Linked DNA regions of Homo sapiens: region 2 is linked to region 1. Evidence: promoter capture Hi-C in human tissues and cell types (Jung and others, 2019). All regions are on one chromosome and are shown on one strand. Each heading gives the region's core, a stretch centred on a gene start or on the middle of the fragment in contact. The rest is flanking DNA. Distances are from core to core; before and after follow the strand shown. Region 1 holds the start of CEACAM16 (CEA cell adhesion molecule 16, tectorial membrane component). Region 2 holds the start of KLC3 (kinesin light chain 3).

What was found. Contacts are between HindIII fragments. The study calls those that stand out against the background at their distance.
Region 2: the fragment with the promoter of KLC3 here is called in contact with the fragment with the promoter of CEACAM16 in region 1 in 1 of the 25 tissues and cell types used here (lymphoblastoid cells).

The regions. Positions count from the first base shown.
Region 1 is chr19:44,696,753-44,702,705 of GRCh38, reverse strand. It overlaps CEACAM16 (CEA cell adhesion molecule 16, tectorial membrane component), which reads right to left and starts at 3,555. Exons shown (of 7, transcript NM_001039213.4): 1 at 3,446-3,555; 2 at 1,213-1,345. The coding sequence starts at 1,249. It overlaps CEACAM16-AS1 (CEACAM16, CEACAM19 and PVR antisense RNA 1), which reads left to right. Exons shown (of 2, transcript NR_186815.1): 2 at 3,529-3,668. RefSeq lists an enhancer at 5,383-5,953. The HindIII fragment of the contact is 25,622 bases long and covers 1-5,953 here.
Region 2 is chr19:45,337,317-45,343,269 of GRCh38, reverse strand. KLC3 (kinesin light chain 3) reads right to left here and starts at 2,520. Exons shown (of 13, transcript NM_177417.3): 1 at 2,424-2,520. RefSeq lists a silencer at 2,535-2,624. The HindIII fragment of the contact is 10,588 bases long and covers 1-5,953 here.

The DNA.
Region 1 (5,953 bases), core at 2,306-4,805:
CCAGTCTGGGGCTCTGCCTCTGCCTCTCCAAGCTCGCCTACAGCGGAAAGCAGGGGTAAGATGAACACACTCCACCCCTTTCCTTCTCAACCAAGCAGATCAGCCCCAAGCCCGATGAGCTGGTCGGGGCTGCTTGGGTTTGAATGACGTGTGGTTTGAATGCCCGGAACGGGCGGCTGTGACAGTGCTCACGTCAAAAGGACTGACATGGCTGGCCAGCTTTCTGGTACTTTCCAGGCTGTTAGAGTGTGGCTAGGAGTGAGGGTCTCTGGGTCTAGCCCTCAGTCCTGCCACTCTCTGGCCGTGTGACAGCGGCCAATGGTTTCACCTTTCTGAGCCTCGTTTTCTCCCTATGAAGTGCGGTTCATGTGTGGGCCTCCCTCATAGGTGGTTTGGGGTTGTTTTTTTTTTTTGAGATGGAGTCTTGCTTTGTTGCCCAGGCTGGAGTGCAGTGGTGCAGTCTCGGCACACTGTGACCTCCACCTCCTGGATTCAAGTGATTCTCCTGCCTCAGCCTCCCGAGCAGCTGGGACTACAGGCATGTGCCACCACACCTAGCTAATTTTTTGTATTTTAGTAGAGATGGGGTTTTACTATGTTAACCAGGCTGGTCTTGAACTCCTGACCTCAGGTGATCCGCCCGCCTCGGCCTCCCAAAGTGCTGGGATTAGTGGTGTGAGCCACCTTGCCCGGCCCCTCATAGGTGGTTTTAAACCATGAGAAGCTCTCAGAACAGCTCCGGGCACACGGCATATGTGGTGCTGCTTATAATGACCTTTACATGACCCTGTCAGTGAGGCCCCATTCACAGGTGGGTACACAGAGGCTGAGAAGGGAAAGGCAACTGCCCTAAGCTACATCTTCCGGGAGAAACAGCTGCTGGGAAGAGTTTAGCCTCATCAAGGCTTCCATAGCTGATAAAACAGAAACCTGCAGGAATGAAGGAGCAACAGCGGCTCCCTTGTCCTGGCTTGTGCCCTGGGCTTAGAAATCTCCAAAGCCCACCCTGAAAACCTCTCTGGGTGGCTGTCCCCAGCCTGCCCAATGCAGATGCCTCTTGGAGGGGTAAACTGCCGGTGTGAAGCAGGGCTGCCCTCCCTCCCTAGCACGCTGGACTTCTGCTCACACCTTCCCTCTCTCAGACTGGGGGTCCCCTCCCCTCCCTGGGGTCCTCGGGGGGCTGAGGTGCTGGGGGGTGCCATTCTCGCTCACCACTGAGGAGCAGCCAGCTGTACCCAGTCAGCGCCATCTTTCACCCCAAACCGAGTCTTGGAGATGGTGGCGTTGAAGTCCCAGTGCTCGGACTCCCTTCCTGGTTGGGGCTCGGCTCCGTCTGCCGCAGGACCTGGGAGGGTTTGGTGATTTGGAGCCAGGGGAGATCACCTGAATTTGGAGGGATCGAGTCACCAAGGATCTGGGGCCCGGTTTGGGTACCAGGGTGGGTGTGGCGGGCACCGGCCAGAGGCCGTGACCTGGGCAGGCCTCCTGGGGCAGCCGCCTAACCCTCTTTGTGCCGAGGGCCTGGATTTGGTACTGGGAGAGGAACCAGGTCACCGAGGAGAAGAGAGGAAAAGTAGGGGAAGGTTTTCGGGTAGTTCTTACCAACCACCCAGGCCCGTGGCCTCCTCAGAGAGCCTGGGAGTCACCAAGGAAGAAAATCAGTAAAAGGTGACTGCACCTTTCCCAGCCCCACCCAGTGCAGGGGACCTACAGGTGTTGTCTCAGCGGATGGCAAAACAACCCTGTAAAGTGGGCACCTTTAGGACCCCCCTTTGCAGATGGAGATGAGCTAGGTGGGGACTCCCACTTGTCCGGGTTCCTGCAGGGAGAGGGGATTTGAGCCCTGCTCTGTGTGCAAACCCAGACAGAAGGGCAGGAAACTGTATGGCCACATGCTTTCTTTGGGGCTCTCCTTCTTGTTGGCTTCCTGCAAAGTGCTCAGAAGTTCACATTCTCTTTCTCCCACTTCGGAGGCCTTGTTTTCCCCTCTCTGTCAAATGGGCGTATTCGGAGGCTTTGGGGCCAAGGAGAGCTGAGTTTTGACACCAGCTCTGCACTTACCCAAAGTGGGGCTGGGGACAGTCCCTTGTTGAGTCTCCATTTATTATTCTGATAAATAGAGATGATGGCCGGGTGCACTGGCTCATGCCTGTCATCCCAGCACTTCGGGAGGCCAAGGCAGGCGGATCATTTGAGGTCAGGAGTTCGAGATCAGCCTGGCCAACATGGCGAAACCCCATCTCTACTAAAAATAATAATAATAAAAATAGCCAGGCGTGGTGGCAGGTGCCTGTAGTCCCAGCACTTTGGGAGGCTGAGATGGGCAGATCACCTGAGGTGAGGAGTTTGCAACCAGCCTGACCAACATGGCGAAACCCCGTCTCTATTAAAAATATAAGTTAGCTGGGTGTGGTGGCTAACGCCTGTAATCCCAACACTTTGGGAGGCCAAGGCAGGTGGCTCACGAGGTCAGGAGTTCGAGACCAGCCTGGCCAATATGGTGAAACCTCGTATGTACTAAAAATATAAAAAATTAGCTGGGTGTGGTGGTGTGCACCTGTAGTCCCAGCTACTCGAGAGGCTGAGGCAGGAGAATCTCTTGAACCCAGGAGGTGGAGGTTGCAGCGAGCTGAGATCACACCACTGCACTCCAGCCTGGGTGACAGAGTGAGACTCTATCTCAAAAAACAAAAGCAAAAACAAAAAATAAAAGTTAGCCGGTCATGGTGGCACATGCCTGTAATCCCAGCTACTAGGGAGGCTGAGGTAGGAGAATCGCTTGAATCCAGGAGGTAGAGGTTGCAGTGAGCCGAGATCCTGCCACTGCACTCCAGCCTGGGTGACAGAGCAAGACTCCATTTCAAAAACAAACAAAAAAATAGAGATGATATGGACCCTACTTCAGGTTTGTTGACAGCAGTTAGTGAGAGGCTACAAGTCAGGGATTTAAGCCAGAGCCTGGTGGACGTGGGTCTGATTGGTATGCCTGTTATTAAAAGTATAGGCTCTGGCCGGGCGTGGTGGCTCATGGCCGGACGCAGTGGCTCATGCCTGTAGTCCTAGCACTTTGGGAGGCCGAGGTGGGTGGATCAACTGAGGTCAGGAGTTCAAGACCAGCCTGGCCAGCATGGTGAAACCCTGTCTCTACTAAAAATACAAAAATTAGCTGGGTGTGGTCGCGGGCACCTGTAATCCCAGCTACTTGGGAGGCTGAAGCAGGAGAATTGCTTGAACCCTGGGCAAAAGAGTGAAACTCCATCTCAAAAAAAAAAAAGTATAGGCTCTGGACATAGTTCCACTGTTTCCTACCTCCAGGACCCTGGGCAATTTATGGACTCTGCCAAGCCTCAGTTTCCTTATTTGTAAAATAGGGAAAACAATAGTACTCACATCACAGGGCTGTTGAAAGGATTAAGTAGATACACATGTGAAGTACAGTACTTACCACGACTGGCGCAGAGTAAATGCTCAGTAAATCACTCATTCACTTATTGGACAAATACTGAATGAGCACCTATTGTTTGCCAGGTGCTGTTCTAGGCGCTGAGGATGCAGCCGTGCACAAGACGGATGAAATCCCTGCCCTCAGGGGGCCGACATTTGCGGAGTAAATAAAGGAAAGGTAAATATCTTCCACGTCAGATTGAAAAATAAAGTCAGAAAGGGGATTTGCCATTTTATTTTTTGTAGAGATGGGATCTCGCTATGTTGCTCTGCCTGGTCTCAAACTCTTGGCCTCAAGTGATCTTCCCACCTTGGCCTCCCAAAGTGCTGGGATTACAGCCATGAGCCACTGCCCCTGGCCTGGTTTGCTACTTTAAATTGGGGTGGAGGGAGGGTAACAGGGAAGGTGTCTCTGAGATGATGCTGGGCAGGAGCCGAGGGGGTTGTGGTGCCAGAGCTGCTGATAGCTGTGTTCTTATGACCTGCATCCTGATGGCTTCTGAGTCCTGGTTCCTCTGAGGCCTCTGCAGCCTGCTTCCGGGCAGGGGGCCACACCTGTGCTCACCTGTCCTGGTTTGCCTCCAGCACTGTGTCCTGGGCTGCCCTCGTGGGGCAGGGCTCTAACAAGGGGGAGAAGGCCCTGAGGAGGTGCGGGTGAGGCCAGGTGAGAGGCACAGAGGATGTCCTGGCGCCTCCTGCTCCCCTCTCCCCACCTGTGACCTCACCTCACTCTTCTGCGTCCTGGCCCAGAGCACTGGGACCTCATCCCAGTATCAATCAGGATGCCTCCCTGATGTCCCTGGGCACCTCTCACTCACCTTGTCCCAAACTGACCTTGGCATCTTCCCCCAGAAGTGTATCTTCCCCTGGTGCCCTTATCAGGGAAGGCGCCACTACCCACCTCATCGCTGGGAAAAGAGACCTGGGGCCTCATCCCTGATGCCTCCCCCTACTCCCCGAACACGCCACCCCTTCTGGCAACTGACTCTACGTATATCTTCTCTCCCTCCCTGAAGCCCCTGCCCTGGTCTAGGTGACCACTCCACCACCCCACCTTGCCTGGGTCCTCCTGTCTCCCCACCAGCCTCCTCCCTAGTCTCTGGCCCTGGTCTCCCCGACTCCCATTGCCCCTCCACATGGCAGACAGAGGCTCTTTCCAAAACAAAAACCTGCCTCTGCCCCTCCGTGCTCAGAACCTGCTGTGGCTCCCCAGTGCCCTTGGGAGGAAGCCCAGGTTCCTCACTGTAGCCCAGGAGGCCCTGCCCGGCCTGACTCCTGCCCACCTGACCAGCTACATAGAATACCACTTGCTTCCGGGAACCCTCTGCTTCAGTTCTTCTGTTTCACTTGCACTCTACCCAGAATATCCCTGCTTCCCTCTGCTCTATTCCACTGCCTTCCCCAAACCCTCTCCTCCAGGAAGCCCTCCTGGACTTCAGGGCCTGGAATTCCCTGTCTCAGCCCTGACTGCCTTGGGTTCTCGCTGTCTGGGGCTGGGTCTTTTTCCCCCACTGGCCTGGGAGCCTCAGCTGGGCACGGCTGGGCTGTCACCACTGTGTCCCCAGCACTGCCCAGCAAATCACCTGGCACAGAGCAGAGGCTCACAGCATGTTTGTGGAACTGGACACCAGGTGTGGATGACACAGAGAGAGGAGTCTTCAGAGAGGCTCAGGTTCCTGGTGATCTGCTGTCTGCCTGCGGAGTGTGACCAGGCCGGGCTCTAGAGGCCCTCTATCGTCACATCCACCCTTCCTAGTCTGCCCCCATCCTCCACCTCCCTGGCCCCTCCTCTGGTGCTCCCGGCTGTGAGCCCAGATCCTTGGTTCAGTCAAGAGCTGCAGGCTCTTTAGCACCTGCTGTGCGCCGCCGGGCTGCGCAGAAAGCAGACGGGGTTCTTGTGGGCAGGGGCTTTTTCCTGTTTGTGCAGTGGGTGGGGGGTGTTCATGACATTGACTTCCCTGGGACTCTTCTGAGGATCAAAATAGGCACATGGAGTGTTCCGTGCCGGGCCTGCCTCAGAGCACGTACTGGGGGCACAGTGGTCGTTGTTCCTCCACCATTTGACAAATGTTTATGGAGCACCAACTATGTGCCGGGCACTGCGCTAGGCGCTGTGGGGTTACAGCCGTGAATACGGTAGACACAGAGCTGACCTATTGATTGGGGAGACAGTTAATAGACGAATACAAACATGAGCAGTGTTAGAACAGGTGGGGACAATGCTGTGGAGAAAAATAAAGCAGGGGAAGGGATGGAGGTGGTCGGGGCACTGGTTTATGCAGGGCAGCAAGGCGACATTGTCAGAGCGACATTGGAGTAGAGGTTCAATAAGGGGGGCCGGGCGCGGTGGCTCACACCTGTAATCCCAGCATTTTGGGAGGCTGAGGCGGGAGGATGGCTTGAGCCCAGGAGTTCGAGACCAGCCTGGGCAGCGTAGAGCACGTCTCTACAAAAAAATTTAAAAATGAGCCAGGAGTGGTGTTGCACGCCTGTAGTCCCAGCTATTTGG
Region 2 (5,953 bases), core at 1,271-3,770, 640 kb before region 1:
CACTCACATTCAGACCATCTCCTTGCACTTGACCGTGACACTCGCTGTCCCCCGAACTCACATGGCTCCCAAGCAGCCAACTCCCCACAATGTGCCCAACGCACCTCCAGATGCACACACTCCCAAGATTCACTATGGATCCCTCGCCAGTTTCCCTACTTCCTCTCCCTCCCACTCCAGGCCTGGCCAGCAGGGACTCCCACACCTACACGCCATGCACACACAAGTACTCAGATTCAGCTCCACTGTCGGAACAGAGAGCTGTGAATACGCGTGGAGGGATGCCACGTTCTCGCACACTTCACTCAAGCCACTGCATCCACCATAAGCAGCCCAGCGGTTTTTGCACATGTTGTACATGCACGATCACATACAGTAAGGGTCCTGTACGTTTTGTGCACCACAGACTTGATCGTCATTGATCTCTCCCTCTCTCTAGATATATGTATGTGTATATATGTGATGTATATATCAACCTTTAAAAAATTTAATTTTATTTTTTTGAGACTGAGTCTCGCTCTGTTGCCCAGACTGGAGTGCAATGGCATGATGTTGGCTCACTGCGATCTCCACCTCCCCAGGTTCAAGCGATTCTCCTCCCTCACCCTCCCAAGTAGCTGGAATTACAGGTGCCCGCCACCACACCTGGCTAATTTTTGTATTTTTAGTACAGACGGGGTTTCACCATGTTGGCCGGGCTGGTCTCAAACTCCTGACCTCAAATGATCCACCCGCTCCCCCCTTGGCCTCCCAAAGTGCTGGGATTACAGGCGTGAGCTACCGCGCCCAGCCAACCTTTTTTTAATTTTTAAAAAACTAAACTATGCCCAGCTAATTTTTGTTTTTGTAGAGACGGGGTATCACCATATTGCCCAGGCTAGTCTAGGATTCCTGGGTTCAAGCAATCCCCGCCGCCTCAGCCTCCCAAAGTGTTGAGATTACAGGTATGAGCCACTGCACCCGGCCAATCTGTGTGCTTGTGTATATCACACCATACCTATTCTCACACCTCACACACAAACATCATAAATGGTTGAACTCACAACCACACAGGTTCAAGAGTCATCCTGACAACCACAACCATTCTTCACACAATTTTGCCGATGTAAAACCTCCCTCTATAACCTCAGACACAGCCTTACACACACCACTCCACAGCCAGATTGACAACCACAGCAACAAACACGGCTCAACCACAGCCATCCAGCACTCGGGCTGTGTCCCAGACACACAGCAGCTCCCACACTCACACAGAGCCCCGGGTGCACAACCGCACAGCTGATAATCATAGGCACAGTCCCACACACTGATCCCTGACGCGGACCCCCTTTTCCATCCTGTCACCCGCTTGGAGGAGCATCCCACTTAAATGTCCACGTCTCCACTCCCATCTCCCACAAACTCTCCGTTGCACACCACTGCCAGCCACGGTATCAATGCAGATCACACACCCTCTAGTTCCTCTCTACACACACACACACACACACACACACGCACACACGGCTTCACACACCTCCACACCTCACTCATCCAACCCCAAGGTTCCACGCGCACCGTCCCATGAAACAGCTCCACTTCTGGACACAGTTCCGCCCAGCCCCATGCACCATCACAGTGACACACAATCAAAAGTCAATCATAGTCACCTATCACTGATCCAGTGCCACACTGTCCACCACACGCGCGCGCGCACACACACACACACACACACACACCAACAGGCAGAAAGACAACCACAGCCGCACAGCCTCTTGGTCAATCACACCTAATCCTACAACCAGTTCCACTCTCTGCCATGAAGACAGCCACACACACAGCCACACACATGCACATCAGGCCAAGCAGAAAGTCGACTACAGTCGCACTAGCTCTTGGTCGTAAAGTGCTACCAGCAATCCAATTCTACACACACACCATTCCAGTCAGAGGTCGCCCACGTTTTCACATTGCTAAAAGTGTCACATCATACACACAGTCCCATCACAGGGTTACACGGACAGTCGCTTTCACCCTCATACCCACAGCCTGACACACTCTCTTACACACACGCAAAGCCACACACACACACACACACACACACACAAACACAGGCAGGCAGGAGACTCCCATCGTGGCCCAGCCCCGCAAGCCGCACCAACTTACCCTGGCCTGCCCAGCCCCGCGCACCAGGCTCACCCGCAGTCACAAGGGCCCCCTCCCTCTCCCTCCCAGGCCCCGCCCCGTCCTCGCTGTTTACCTGCGCTGGGGTGGGGGGCATGGGACCCCAGCCAGGCCTCCAGATCCCGGAGAGCCCCAGGACGGGGCAGGGGGCATCCGGGAGCCCCAAGGCCCTTCCCCGTCTCAGGGCGAGCGGGCCCAGGGTTGCCCCCGCCCCCCATCATCGCGGCTCTCCGAGAGTCCCGCGCCCCACTCCCGGCACCCACCTGACCGCGGGCGGCTCCGGCCCCGCTTCGCCCCACTGCGATCAGTCGCGTCCCGCAGGCCAGGCACGCCCCGCCGCTCCCGCTGCGCCGGGCGTCTGGGACCTCGGGCGGCTCCTCCGAGGGGCGGGGCAGCCGGGAGCCACGCCCCCGCAGGTGAGCCGGCCACGCCCACCGCCCGTGGGAAGTTCAGCCTCGGGGCTCCAGCCCCGCGGGAATGGCAGAACTTCGCACGCGGAACTGGTAACCTCCAGGACACCTCGAATCAGGGTGATTGTAGCGCAGGGGCCTTGGCCAAGCTAAAACTTTGGAAACTTTAGATCCCAGACAGGTGGCTTTCTTGCAGTGCCTGCCCCAGAGCCTTTTCCTTGGTTGTGTGGCCTGCTTCGATCTCTCTTCCCACAGATCTCATCGTCTTTAGGTCTCTTCTCAAAGGCCACCTCCTCCGGCAGGCCTTCCCTGATTGCCCCCTTCTAAATGGCACCCTTCCACCAAAACATTACATACTCCTCTTGATTTTGTTCACAAAACTTTTCAGGGCCTAAAATTACCTTATTTATTTATTGAGAGGGAGTCTCGCTCCGTCACCCAGGCTGGAGTGCAGTAGCGCGATCTCGGCTCACTGCAACCTCCACCTCCCAAGTTCAAGCGATTCTCCCATCTCAGTCTCCCGAGTAGCTGCGACTACAAGTGTCTGCCACCACGCCCGGCTACTTTTTATATTTCTAGTAGAGACGGGGTTTCGCCATGTCGGCCAGGCTGGTCTCAAACTCCTGACCTCAAGTGATCCTCCCGCCTCGGCCTCCCAAAGTTCTGGGATTACAGGAGTGAGCCACCGCCCCCGGCCCCTAAAGTTATTTTATATAACATATATCACATCATTATGTTATGTTATATATTATGTTATTGGCAAGGGAATGTGATATCTAAGAATTGGGCTCAGGGTTCAAATTTGATTCCGGCACTTACTTGCTGTGCAGGCCTTGGGCAAGTAACTTAACCTCTCTGTGCCTCAGTTTCCCTAGTCAATAAAATATAAATAGTCTAAGGCTTTGAGAATTGAATGTTAACTAATACAGGGACAGTACTTTTTTTTTTTTTTTTTTTTTTTTGAGACACAGTCTCGCTGTGTTACCCAGGCTGGAGTACAATGGCGCTATCTTATCTTGGCTCACTGCAACTCCTGGGTTCAAGTCATTCTCCTGTCTCAGCCTCCCGAGTAGCTGGGATTACAGGCGCCCGCCACCATGCCCAGCTAATTTTTCCATTTTTAGTAGAGACGGGGTTTCCCCATGTTAGCCAGGCTGATCTCGAACTCCTGACCTTAGGTGATCTGCCCACCTCGACCTCCCAAAGTGCTGGAATTACAGGCGTGAGCCACCGCGCCTGGCCAGGACAGTACTTTTATCAGGGCCTCGCAAATAGAAAGTACTTAGTAAATACTCGCTACTGACTGTATATTATGGGTTCACTTTTTCTCCTCTACTATATAAGCTCTGAGGGCAGGGCTGTATATTGTCAGCACTGTTATCTTCAGCAAGAGCTTGATGCAAAGTCGGTGCTCAATAAATTGTGACTGAATGAAGGAATCAAGTCCTAGAATAGTAAGCTGGCCAAAGCTGGGAGGACACGATTCTAATATAACTTGAGGACGGCGCAGTGGCTCACACCTGTAATCCCAGCACTTTGGGAGGCCGAGGGGGCTGGATCACTTGAGGTCAGGAGTTCGAGACCAGCCTGGCCAACATGGTGAAACCCTATCTCTACTAAAAATACAAAATTAGCCGGGTGTGGTAGCGCACGCCTGTAATCCCAGCTACTTGGGAGGCTGAGGCAGGCGAATCGCTTGAACCCCAGAGGCAGAGGTTGCAGTGAGCCGAGATCACACCATTACACTCCTGCCTGGGCAACAAGAGCGAAACTCCATCTCAAAAATAAATAAATGCATACATACATACATGGCTCAATGCGCGCGGTACCCCGGTCACTACACTATGAAATGCTTCCAGCAGAGGGCGCTGCTGGTCCGTGGACCAAACTCCAGACTCGGCACAGCTCCGCGCTCCCTCCGAATTGCAGCCAACGTGCCCTCTACTTCCCTGTTGTCTGAGCCCCAGTGCTGATGCTTCCTCCTCCAGGAAGCCCTTTCTTATTTCCCAGGTTTCCAGGCTCTTGGGCTCCCACATCCAGCCCTGCCAACTCTGGGTCATCAGTGTGGGGAGACAGGTCAGTCCCATATTAGACTATGAGCCCCAAGAAGGGAGGAGGCGGCCAGGGGCCATGTCAGTCTCCACTGTGTCCCCAGTGCCACCTAGCACAGGCCCAACGCAGAGAAGGCATTTGGGAGAATAGGTGCTGATTGAATCATGGAAATAAAAATTCAAACTCATATCCTAACTACTCCAGCATTTTTTTTTTTTTAAGACAGTCTTGCTCTGTTGCCCAGGCTGGAGTGCAGTGGCACGATCTTGGCTCATTGTGTAACCTCCGCTTCCCAGGTTCAAGCGATTCTCCCGCCCCAGCCTCCCAAGCAGCTGGGATTACAGGCACCCACCATCATGCCTTGCTAATTTTTATATTTTTGTAGAAATGGAGTTTCCCATGTTGGCCAGGCTGGTCTTGAACTCTTGACCTCAGGTGATCCACCCACTTCGGCCTCCCAGAGTGCTGGGATTATAGGCGTCAGCCACCATGCCCGGCCTACTCTAGCTTTTTTAAAAGACAGGTGTCACTCTGTCACCCAGGCTGGAGTGCAGTGGCAGTCGTAACTCACTGCAGCCTTGATTTCCCGGGTTTAAGCAATGCTCCCTCCTCAGCCTCCCAAGTCCCAGGTAGCTGGGACTACAAATGCACCACCATACCCAGCTACTTTTTGTTGTTTTTTGTAAAGATGGGGGTCTCCCTATATTGCCCAGGCTGGTTTTGAACTCCTGACCTCAAGCGATCCTCCTGCCTTGGCCTCCCAAAGTCCTGGGATTACAGGCATGAGCCACTGTGCCAAGCTCCAGCTATTTCTTTCTTTCTTCCTTTTTTTAATTAAGACAGCATCTCACTGGGAGTGGTGGCTCATGCCTATAATCCCAGCACTTTGGGAGGCCTAGGAGGGCGGATCACCTGAGATCAGGAGGGCGGATCACCTGAGATCAGGAGGGCGAGACCAGCCTGACCAATATGATGAAACCGTGTCTCTACTAAAATTACAAAAATTAGCCGGGCTTGGTGGCATGGGCCTGTAATTCCAGCTTGTCAGGAGGCTAAGACAGGAGAATCACTTGAACCAGGGAGGCGGAGGTTGCAGTGAGCCAAGATGGCGTCATTGCACTCCAGCCTGGGCAACAAGAGCAAAACTCCATCCCCTAAAAAAAAAAAAAAAAAGACAGTGTCTCTGTTGCCCAGGCTGGAGTGCAATGGCATGATCTCGGCTCACTGAAACCTCCATCTCCCGGGTTCAAATGATTCTCCTGCCTCAGCCTCCAGAGTAGCTGGGATTACAGGTGTGCACCATCACGCCCAGGTAATTTTTATATTTTTAG